3 separate regions of the Homo sapiens genome follow, and all the other regions are linked to region 3. Evidence: promoter capture Hi-C in 16 types of primary human blood cells and fetal thymus (Javierre and others, 2016). All regions are on one chromosome and are shown on one strand. The core of a region is centred on a gene start or on the middle of the fragment in contact, and the rest is flanking DNA. Distances in the headings are between cores, read along the strand shown. Region 1 holds the start of IKZF1 (IKAROS family zinc finger 1). Region 2 holds the start of HUS1 (HUS1 checkpoint clamp component). Region 3 holds the start of HNRNPA2B1 (heterogeneous nuclear ribonucleoprotein A2/B1).

Region 1 (3,588 bases), core at 35-2,534, about 24 Mb after region 3:
TCCGCCTGCAGCCACCCTTCCGCACGCACTTGTGTGTGCACCCAGGCCAACATGGAAGGCGCCATCCTAACTTCTGCCGTGAGCAGGTGGGAGGGAAGAGAGACGAGAGGTATTCCATTGGTTGTCTGGGAAAATGAATTGCACCTTCCCCTCCCTTGCGGAGGATCAACTTTTCCCACCCCCTCGGGTGGGCACTCGCATCCTGGGGCCGGAGCCTGAACCCGGGAGCCAAGGGGCCCCAGTTCCAGGGACGTGAAGCTGAGCGTACAGCGGGCGCTCCCAGACACTGGGGAAAGTGCTTTACGATGTCCCGAGTCCCTCCAGTCTCGCCAGCGGGGCGAGCGTGAGGGTGCCCCGACCGACCAGCGGCCCCGGGTGCAGGGTGGCGGGCCCGGCGGCGCGCGTCCCCCTCCCCCTCCTGGCGGCCCGCACGTGTCGCCCGCGCCGCGCCCCCACGGGTTACGCGCGGGTCCCGCAGCGCCGCGGCCGAGCCGGGCTGCCCGGCCCGCGGACACAGCGCCGGCCGCCGCATCCCGTGCGGGGCCGCGGCGCGATGCTGCGCTGGAATGAGGAAGCGCGGCGGCGAGGGGAGGGCCCGGGCGCGGTGCGCGCGGGGGTGGCGGCGGCGCGCCGAGCGGGCCCGGCGCGGGCGAGCGGGCTGCAGCCGGCGGCGGCGCCAGCAGGTACGGCCCGCACCCGCCGCCGCCCCGGCGGCCTTTGGGGGCTGAGCCGGAGCCCGGCGCGATTGCAAAGTTTTCGTGCGCGGCCCCTCTGGCCCGGAGTTGCGGCTGAGACGCGCGCCGCGCGAGCCGGGGGACTCGGCGACGGGGCGGGGACGGGACGACGCACCCTCTCCGTGTCCCGCTCTGCGCCCTTCTGCGCGCCCCGCTCCCTGTACCGGAGCAGCGATCCGGGAGGCGGCCGAGAGGTGCGCGCGGGGCCGAGCCGGCTGCGGGGCAGGTCGAGCAGGGACCGCCAGCGTGCGTCACCCCAAAGTTTGCGGGGTGGCAGGGCGCGCGCTCTGGCCACCCGCCGCTCTGGGCGGCAGCTGGTGGCAACGCAAGGGCGCGGCGGGGGCGGCCGGCGCGGAGGGGGCCAGGTACGGGGCCCGCGGGCGGCGCTGTGCGCGCGGGGCAGCCGGTCGGCCGGGAGCGCGAAAGCCTGGTCTGAGCCGGCTGGGGGCGGGGAGTGTGGCGGAGAAATGGGGAACAATGCGAGTGAGCAACTTCAGGAAGTCATTGTGAAAGAAAGCTGGGAAGAGCTCCGCGGCCAAGTTAGCAGGACACTCTAACAAGTGACTGCGCGGCCCGCGCCCGGGGCGGTGACTGCGGCAAGCCCCCTGGGTCCCCGCGCGGCGCATCCCAGCCTGGGCGGGACGCTCGGCCGCGGCGAGGCGGGCAAGCCTGGCAGGGCAGAGGGAGCCCCGGCTCCGAGGTTGCTCTTCGCACCCGAGGATCAGTCTTGGCCCCAAAGCGCGACGCACAAATCCACGTGAGTGTTTTCAAATTGAATTTCAATAGGAAAACTTGGGGTAACTGGTGAATTTAAAAAAAAAAAAACACAGTAAAGAAAAGCGGTAAGGTTGGTAGACCCTGGTGTCGCTCAGGTCCGCCTCTCTTTTCTGAGGACAGTGAGAGAGTTCACTTCTGTCAAGCGTCTGTTGCTCTGCACTGTGCCAGCAGGTGCAGGACCAGGCCGACATGGGACACTTCTGAGCAGCCCCGCTGTCACCAGGAGAGGAGTTCTAGCTCCCAACCATATTTAAATTTATGTAGACCTACATATACCCACGGAAGTCAGCCTTTATAAAGTCGTGTGTAAAGAGTTTTCCTTATATTTGAGCCGGGAGCTTTCTTTTTATACTATAAATATGATGAGATCGAGTCTGAACTTAATTTCTGCAAGAGAGGAATTATCCCGGCTTTGAAAAGTTAGTCCTTTTGCTGACCGCAGGTTTGACGCTCAAGTCACCAAACCTTCTCAGGAAAACCCTTAGTAATATTAAGGCATCAGGTTACTTGCGGTTATATTTGAAATGTATTTTAAATATTTGTCAAGCATCGCTGCTGATGCCTAAGGAACCTCGTGAGGGCTTGTTTTTCCTTCTAATTTGGAGGCATCTAATGACCGAAAACCGTAGCGATTCCATAGGGTCTGACCAGGCACAGCTTTCAAATGCAGCTTCCCTCTCTCTAGGGACTGCAGCCCACCCAGACTGAATTTCAATGCGGTGCGCTTTGCTTAGGTTACCCACTCACAATTTCCCACTGCGCCGCAGGCAGTATATTTCAGCTTTGAGATACCTTGTTTTAAAATTCCAGACAAAATGGTGTTGAGGAAATGTCTCCTTACTAGTCCCATCAACTTCTGTTAAAAGAGGAAAATTTATGGAATTTGAAAATACTGCGTATGATATTTAAACTTTCATAGACATTCAAATGCTTTTAAGGCCAGGTTCAATTTGGTTATGAGTCGAGGGGTGGGGGGGACCCACATAGAAATGTCCTGGGTCCTCTTGAGTTTATTTCTTTGTTTGAAGATGTTTGTTCAATGAGTTTTATTGTACTCATCTTTTATATGGAATTTTAAAAAGTAACAATTTCAGTATTATTTATATTAGAATGTGTCAGAATTATTTCCGTGACAAATCAGATCATTTGGGCTATGGCTTAAAATGTACACGAGGCAAATATTCATGACAAGAAGATTCACCTTCTTACGCTGGCATCTTGTAAAATGCAGAACAAGTTAAAGAAATAATGTGTACACATACAAATAATGATGTCACATTAAAAATACTACACTATTCTTGCTTGATGGAATGTATCTGATTTCCAATTTCACCATGAACATATTTCATACATTTTTTACATGAAAAAAAACGTGACTCTTAAGTCTCACAGTCAATCAGAGCTGGTGACCAGAACATTTTATTGAACTAAATGGTCATGTTTTCTTCCCCTTTTGTTTCACGGTGAGAGTTGAAGGAAGGAGTTTAGAAACTCTCCAGTACTTGTTTAATTCATCAGTGTTCTAATTAGAGTGGTACCTCTTGGAAAACTACACACCCCCCTAATGCAGAAACATCATAGCAATAATCACCCACCCTCAGGGTCTCCAGGAGACCACAAGGGCTGCAGATAAAAGTCTGGATGTGTTAGGTTTGACCCTTTCGAAGAGTTTTACACAGGCTCCTAAAGAGAAGATCAGCTGTGGCCGTTTGTAGCCATTTCCTTTGTCGAAAAACTAAGATCGCAGTGAATGTATTAGCCAAGAGGTCTAAAGCCCTGTTGTACTGCAGGCCACTGTCTTCCTTGTTTGACTAGAGACTTGGAGTTTGAGAACAGTGGTTCTTTGGTTTGGATACATTTTTTGTTCTTGATTTGGATGTGTGTGTTTCATGCGTGGTTAATATAGCATATTTTCAATATAAATGTCAAAAATTTTGAAATAGGAAAGAACTCTCTATATATTAATGTACTTATACACACACTTCAAGATTATGCATTTATTAACAGATACATGAAATAAATTCCATGTGCATATGCACATATGCACACAGAGCGTGCACACACACAGCATGCACAC
Region 2 (4,108 bases), core at 528-3,027, about 22 Mb after region 3:
GAGCCGAGATCGCGCCACTGCACTCCAGCCTGGGTGATAGAGAGACTCCGTCTCAAAAAAAAGGAAATACGAACCTCATTCTATGAGTAGGAAGAGCAACTCTGGATTGTATGTATGCGCATGAGTTTGTGTATTTGTGTGTTTGGAGGACAGCTGTGCACTAAATTCATCTGGCAGTAGCATATAAAACATACGTGTACTGAAGAACGAGGGGCCATTTAAAGGTTATTATAGCAGATGAGGCAGGGTGGGAGTGGGGAGAAAACATGTCAAAGGTGAAAATGGATAGAGAAACCATGATTTCTAGACAAGGTGACAATACCACTACAAGAAACAGAGAGGCTGGAAGTTTCACGGCTTGGAAAAAGCAGCATTCTAGCTGAATGCATATGATAACAACACAATTTTAAAATGAGGAGGAACTGACTCTAATGCAAAATATAGTTATGGACCAGATCTTTAAATTTAAATAAACCAAACAGCTTTCAACAGTATTTATTGTTAAAAAGGCTAGGCTAACTATGTCTATTCCTTCGAGGCCAAGACTTCTGTGTTAGAAACCCTGACTCTCCTACTCACCAGCTCCACGGAGACCGTGAGGCAGGGAAAGTGTTTATTAGTCAGTTTGATTTTCAAAGCCCTGGCATTCTGGGCAGTCTTCAAGGCTCGAGATAAGTTTTCCGATGTTAGCTCTAAATAAATCTCATTGTTTTCTGCAGAGACACCCTCCATTTGAAATTCGTTGAAGAAGTTCTCCTAAGGGAAAAAAAATGAGGGATGAGGGAGGGTATATGTGATCTTTCCAGTGACAATCTGCAGAGTGTGCAGGCCTCTCAGAAGCTTTTGCTCACCTGTTCCAGCTCACACCACATGCTCACTCCTCCATTAGCCAGCTTGTCACAAAGGATGAAGTTAAGCTTATCAGGGCTGATGCGGAGGGTGCAGGTTTTGGCAAGCTTGGCTATCATGTTACTGATTCCTAAAGCAGGGGTTAAAATAAGGAATTACTAAAATGCACATTATGTATCCTAGAGACCAACTTATTTTGCAGAATTTCTTGTTCATCAACTTCTCGGTGGAAAAATAACCACTTAACGTTGGTATCACACTGGAAAGTACTTTAATACCCCTGATGTCACGCAATTCTCCCAACAAACTAGGGGAGATGTACAGCACACATCATCAGTGTTCAAATAAGAAAACAGGCACCTACCAGTCATTCATTCATTCAACATGGATTTATTGACTACTAGGTACTGCAATACACAGTTAAATGCAAGGTTAGGCACTGTCAGGGTGGAGGGACGAATGGGGCCTTGAAGGTATGTCAATGCCTGATAAAGCCGTCTATGGGAGCAGTGGCCGCTTTTTTTTAAAGCCACGTGATCGGAATCAAGTTTCAGAAACGTCCCTTGAAAGCCGCCTTCATCCCCACAAGTGCCCTCCGACCCGCCCCGCGCCCTCCCGGCCCCACCCTCCCGCGGCCTACACCAGCACCCCCATCCCGGCCCCATCCTCCCGCGGCCCCTTCCGGCGCCCATCCCCGTTCTGATCCTCCTGCGCGGTCCCCACCGCGCGCTCACTGCTTCCTTCCGTTCCTCCCTCGCTCCTCTCCGGCCTCCCTGCTCACGTGTGAAGTGGTTCAGACAGGCCCCGTCCACGATCTTGGCCCGAAACTTCATGGCCGCGGATGGCGCAGCCGCGGCGGGCCTCTGTGGGTAACAGAAAAGCGTCGCGCCCTGAGTGTCCCCGCCCGGAAACACGGCAGCGCGAACAGTGGTTCCGCCCGGCTCGGGCTACGCGACTCTTACCAGGGTTATCTCCGGGCCACGCCCCGGAGGAGGTGGGGCTAGGGGGTCACGCCCTAGAGGAGGTGGGGTCACGGGTCAAGGATCACAGGTCACGCCCCGGGGGAGGTGGGGGTCCCAGTCTCCGGGTATGCCTCCGCGCTGCCGGGTAATGGTGGGATCTACTTTTAGTGAGGCGGAGGCTTCAAGCCCCAGATTCGGGGAGGTTGTTCTGAGAATTCACGTTTTGAAAGAATTTTGTGACACCTATTTCAAGTGTTATTTTAAAATATCCAAATAAAATTAATCGTTTATAAAGGTTAAACAATATTATCTTAAATATACCTAAGGTAGAGCAGCTTTAAACCCTCCAGCCTCAGATGACGGTACTGGTACTTTGGTATTGAAGCATCTTGGTGGATTAAGGTTCTGAAAATTGTTTCAAATGACTTCTAAAAAAATTGAACATATTACTGGCTAGTTGGTAAAGTCGGGAAGCTTAAAGAACACTGACGTTAAGTGATAATTCTGCAGTTTGCCTCAAGACGAACTTTATTACATCCGATAAAATTCTTATTAGCATAAATAATGTCATTAGGATTTTTTTTAAAGGAAAAATTTTAAAGGGGGAAATGAAGCAACAATTGTATCTAATTTGGTTTTTCAAAGACTAAAGATTATCTGTGTTAACAATTGTTATTTTTAATGTCCTTTGCAAATAGACTAGAACCTTGTCTTTAACTTGACACATAGAATCAAGATAATGATAATGCAGATGATGATGATGATGATTTTGAGACGGAGTCTGGCTCTGTCGCCCTGGCTGGAGTGCAATGGCGTGATCTTGGCCCACTGCAACCTCCACCTCCCGGGTTCGAGGGATTCTCCTGCCTCAGCTTCCCAAGTAGTTGGGATTACAGGCACAAGCTACCATGCCCGGCTAATTTTTGTATTATTAGTAGAGACGGGGTTTCGCCATGTTGGCCAGGCTGGTCTCGAACTCCTGACCTCAGGTGATCTGCCCACCTCGGCCTCCCAAAGTGCTGGGATTATAGGCGTGAGCCACCGCGCCAGGCCCAGATAATTTTCAAAGACACATGCACACATATGTTTATTGTGGCACTATTCACAATAGCAAAGACTTGGAACCATCCCAAATGTCCATCAATAATAGACTGGATAAGGAAAATGTGGCACATATACACCATGGAATACTATGCAGCCATAAAAAAGGATGAGTTCATGTCCTTTGCAGGGACATGGATGAAGCTGGAAACCATCATTCTCAGCAAAATATCACAAGGACAGAAAACCAAACACCGCATGTTCTCACTCATAAGTGGGAGTTGAACAATGAGAACACATGGACACAGGGAGGGGAATATCACACACTGGGGCCTGTTGGGGGGTGGAGGCCTGGGGGAGGGATAGCGTTAGGAGAAATACCTAATGTAAATGATGAGTTGATGGGTGCAGCACACCAACATGGCACATGCATACCTATGTAACAAATCTGCACGTTGTGCACATGTACCCTAGAACTTAAAGTGTAATAATAATAAAAAGGTGCAAAATACAAAAATTGCAGTTTTTGCCTATTTTAAGACTATAACATGAAGCAAAATTCTAATCTTCATTGTCATATGCGAGTGTTTGCCAAACCAAACTTAATAGATCACTTTCAAAGTTATGCCAACAGGCAGGGCAGGATGGCTCTCTCCTGTAATCCCAGCATTCTGGGAGGCCGAGGCGGGTGGATCATCTGAGGTCAGGAGTCTGAGATCAGCCTGGCCAACATGATGAAACCCCGTCTCTACTAAAAATACAAAAATTAGCCCGGCGTGATAGCTTGTGCCTGTAATCCCAACTACTCAGGAATCTGAGGCAGGAGAATCACTTGAACCCAGGAGGCGGAGATTTCAGTGAACAGAGGTCTGCCACTGCACTCCAGCCTGGGCGACAGAGCGAGACTCCGTCTCAAAAAAAAAAAAAAATGTTGGCATAACTCTTTTTTTTTTTGGAGACGGAATCTCGCTCTGTCGCCCAGGCTGGAGTGCAGTGGCGCAATCTCGGCTCACTGCAAGTTCCGCCTCCCGGGTTCACGCCATTCTCCTACCTCAGCCTCCCGAGTAGCTGGGACTACAGGCGCCCGCCACCACGCCCGGCTAATTTTTTGTATTTTTAGTAGAGACGGGGTTTCACCGTGTTAGCCAGGATGGTCTCGATCTCCTGACCTCGTGATCCGCCCGCCTCGGCCTCCCAAAGTGCTGGGATTACAAGCGTGAGCCACTGAGCCCGGCCATGCCAACATTTTTTATTTG
Region 3 (3,863 bases), core at 1,364-3,863:
CAAATTTCTATTTTTAAACATCAGAAAATAACTCTTGGTTCATTACTTATGACCCAAAGTTTTTATTTCACTATTCAATATCTGAAAAGTATCATTTATTTTCCCTTAACTGCCCCCTCTGGTGGTGATTCTAAGTATCTCAGCCAAAAAAACACAACTTTTTACAACAAACACTAAGTTTCTCCATATGACTCTCAGTTACGAAAATATTTAAAGATATGCATTAGAAATAACCTTAAAAATTACTCTTATAACCAGGACAAATTAATTTTTATGACCAGCAGCACTCGAAGCTTAAAAAGTTTAATTTTTGGTGGACATGTCTATATTTGATATATGACAATACAGAATATGAATTACTCAGCTTAACCATATGTACAATAAAATACATTCACGTGGCATAATCTCTAAGATAACAATTACTGAAAGCTGAAGCTTACTTGATTGGCCATGTGGCAAGCGACAGGCACAAAACAATTTTCCAAGTCAATAGGAAAAACCTCAGAGCTGAAATCTTTATATGCTGTACTACACAGCTGTATTCTGGGCACTTATGAATGTTAAGGAAACCTGTCTTAAAAGTTAACTAGGTTAAAAAACCTCAAACGAGAGAAAGTGATATCCAGGACCAACTGCTACAAACGCATAATGCAAACTAAAAAGTCACACGTAATTTTCAATCAATTATTTTTTGTTCCTAGCAAGCAGCATTAATTGCTGCTCTCATCCCAGTTCTACGGAGCTCTCCCTCCATTCGCATGCTCCCAACTCCTAAAAAGTAGTGGTAAAACCCAGTTCAGATTTTTTTCCTGTAGTTTTCATGACTCGTAAAAATTAAAGAAAAAATTAACTGAAATGATCAAACTAGCTCCTATGAGACACAAAGCAGTCTTTTGAAATGGTTACTTGTCACGATAGTTATTTTCATTTTTTCAGCTAGTTTTTATTCTTAATTGTCGTCAGCACATAGGTTATCTCTAAACTGAAATTACGGATAATGTACATTTATAACAAGTTTTACAAATCACTAACAAAAAGCAAAAACTCATTACTTACCTCACAATTTATCCAAACTTACCCGATGTCCACTATCGATTTTAAACAATGTTATTTTATAAACGTGCTTAGGGTCAAAGAAAATAACCAGGTAGACCCCCTTCGCTTGAGACCTTATGCTTATCAATGTAATGTTCAACCAAGATTGCAAACAAAATGAGAAAAGTAACAAAGTTCAAATACAGAGCGGCCCAGGCCCAAAACAGTTTTGCACATCAATCCATACGCATTACAGGAAGGAGCCTCTGAAGCCATGTTTTAATCGAAGTATAACTAAGGACAAAATCGTTATTTCACTTTCCTCGTAATCATCTATAAAGGTCCATGGATCTGTCCCGTAAGGGTTAAACTTCTCAGTAACAACATTACTTAAAATGAGTCAGCTCTACAACTTAAACGGAATCCTTAAGAACAGTAAAGGATTCTGACGCGAATATCCCTCCCCCGCCCAGAAAACCACCTTCGTCCCTGCCCCTCGTGGCCGATGGCTTCCAATTTATGTTTATTTTGCCGCGGTTCATCTGTCGTTTTACTGACTGCAGACCCAGATAAAACCGTTACTCAAAGGAAAAAAAAGACAGGAAAAACATAAAATGGTTTCTTTGTCCTACGGCTCGCATTGAACCCGGCCCGACGCCCTGGGTGGTGATATCTTCTCTGAAACCGGGCCCGCAAACCCGGAGCACCCCCCCTCCCCGCTCTTCGGTGTGGCTTCCGAACGCAATGGCGCCATTTCATCGAGGGGAAGGCTGAGCGCCTTTAATGAGGTGCGCAGGACTCTAAAGATCCAAGCTCACAAAACACTCCAAATCCACCTCGAAACGATATGAAAACAGCCCGAGAAGAAAAAAAAATAGTTAACCACTTCTACTTCTTGATAGAGAAAGCACACTAAGAAAATAAAAGAGTTATAAGGAAAACGCTGAGAGGAAGGCGAGCCATGAAAATGGCGGCCGCCAAATCCGGTTCCCGGGAGAGAGGGGGAGGGGAAGCTCCGCAGCCTCGCTCACGAGGACCTGCTGCCCGCCGAAACGCTCGCCGAGGAGACGCCGTGGCCCCCGAAGCAGCGTGCTTTAGAAAGGGAATAAGAATTCCCGCCTCCGCGCCCCACTTTCACCCCAGCGGGGCAGCGTCCGCCATGTGAAAGCTCCCCATCCCCCACCCCCAGTGAAGGGAAATGGCGCCGGGAGGCTGAGGGTGGGGAAGCTGTTTGTACGCTCAGGCCTCCGCTCAAGACCCCGTTCATAAACCTTAAGCCCCACTGCTACTGAATTGGTCCGATTTCCTGCCTCTCTCCCACGGAGGCGGCTGGCCGACTTCCACTGAGGCGCCAACGGCCTCGCCATGCCCTTTTCAATAACTCATTGATTTCAAACCCGTTACCTCCATCGCGGACTCAGTCGCTTCAGCCCGATTTCCCGCAGCCGAGCGAGATGAGAGAGATCTCCGCGGACGAACACGAACCGGACTCGTCCTGGCGCTGTAGTGAGAACTGCCGCTGCTCGAGAAACAACTCTGCGAGGAGCACCTCCGCACGGGACCCGGCGCTGCTGCTACTGCCGCTAGAGCCGCTGCCGCCGCTTTTCTAGAACCTTCCCCCCCACTAACGCGTCTTCCGCTACGTCAGGCCGTCGCGTAAACGCCCTATCCGCCGCCAATGGCGGGAAGGCTCTACGCCCCACCTTACGCCAAATGCGTACTCCTCCCACCCTTGCGGCCAGAGACAGTACCCGACGTTACTTCCGTAAATGCGCTCAATGAATTGCGGAAGGCTAGAGTCCTGCTAGTTACTACCTCTTGGAATAGGGTCCCGCCCCCTGCCTTGGCGCAAGGCAGGTGAGAAACGGTCGCGCAGTTTGAAATTAACGCCGACGGGAGGGGCTTAATCCGCAGCCTGGAGATCCAGCCCCCTCAACCCGGGAGGTGGTCCCTGCAGTTACGCCAATGATAACCCCCGCCAGAAAAATCTTAGTAGCCTTCCCTTTTTGTTTTCCGTGCCCCAACTCGGCGGATTGACTCGGCCCCTTCCGGAAACACCCGAATCAACTTCTAGTCAAATTATTGTTCACGCCGCAATGACCCACCCCTGGCCCGCGTCTGTGGAACTGACCCCTGGTGTACAGGAGAGTTCGCTGCTGAAAGTGGTCCCAAAGGGGTACTAGTTTTTAAGCTCCCAACTCCCCCTCCCCCAGCGTCTGGAGGATTCCACACCCTCGCACCGCAGGGGCGAGGAAGTGGGCGGAGTCCGGTTTTGGCGCCAGCCGCTGAGGCTGCCAAGCAGAAAAGCCACCGCTGAGGAGACTCCGGTCACTGTCCTCGCCCCGCCTCCCCCTTCCCTCCCCTTGGGGACCACCGGGCGCCACGCCGCGAACGGTAAGTGCCGCGGTCGTCGGCGCCTCCGCCCTCCCCCTAGGGCCCCAATTCCCAGCGGGCGCGGCGCGCGGCCCCTCCCCCCGCCGGGCGCGCGCCCGCTGCCCCGCCCTTCGTGGCCGCCCGGCGTGGGCGGTGCCACCCCTCCCCCCGGCGGCCCCGCGCGCAGCTCCCGGCTCCCTCCCCCTTCGGATGTGGCTTGAGCTGTAGGCGCGGAGGGCCGGAGACGCTGCAGACCCGCGACCCGGAGCAGCTCGGAGGCGGTGAAGTCGGTGGCTTTCCTTCTCTCTAGCTCTCGCTCGCTGGTGGTGCTTCAGATGCCACACGCGTCCCGGGGGCCCGGTTCTCCGCTCCCCTCCCCTCCCCTTCTCGCCGGACCCCGCGCCGGGAGCTGCGGGAAGGAGTGGAGGGTCGGGCGGTGGCCTCGCGGCTGGCCT

The links. The method cuts DNA at HindIII sites, captures the fragments that hold promoters and counts their contacts. A CHiCAGO score of 5 or more calls a contact.
Region 1: a contact is called between the fragment with the promoter of IKZF1 here and the fragment with the promoter of HNRNPA2B1 in region 3, in 2 of 17 cell types (fetal thymus and activated CD4 T cells). The highest score is 12.2, in fetal thymus.
Region 2: a contact is called between the fragment with the promoter of HUS1 here and the fragment with the promoter of HNRNPA2B1 in region 3, in 1 of 17 cell types (total CD8 T cells). The highest score is 8.8, in total CD8 T cells.

What each region holds. Positions count from the first base shown.
Region 1 is chr7:50,303,432-50,307,019 of GRCh38, forward strand. It overlaps IKZF1 (IKAROS family zinc finger 1), which reads left to right and starts at 1,285. Exons shown (of 8, transcript NM_006060.6): 1 at 1,285-1,491. RefSeq lists a silencer at 598-1,397. The HindIII fragment of the contact is 6,071 bases long and covers 1-3,588 here.
Region 2 is chr7:47,977,838-47,981,945 of GRCh38, forward strand. It overlaps HUS1 (HUS1 checkpoint clamp component), which reads right to left and starts at 1,778. Exons shown (of 8, transcript NM_004507.4): 1 at 1,631-1,778; 2 at 852-979; 3 at 580-756. The coding sequence starts at 1,682. RefSeq lists silencers at 1,299-1,348, 1,429-1,488 and an enhancer at 1,559-1,848. The HindIII fragment of the contact is 1,329 bases long and covers 955-2,283 here.
Region 3 is chr7:26,198,133-26,201,995 of GRCh38, forward strand. It overlaps HNRNPA2B1 (heterogeneous nuclear ribonucleoprotein A2/B1), which reads right to left and starts at 2,614. Exons shown (of 11, transcript NM_002137.4): 1 at 2,440-2,614. The coding sequence starts at 2,445. CBX3 (chromobox 3) reads left to right here and starts at 3,613. Exons shown (of 6, transcript NM_016587.4): 1 at 3,613-3,694. RefSeq lists enhancers at 1,056-2,029, 1,938-2,057, 2,030-3,002, 2,168-2,557 and a silencer at 3,498-3,863. The HindIII fragment of the contact is 8,290 bases long and covers 434-3,863 here.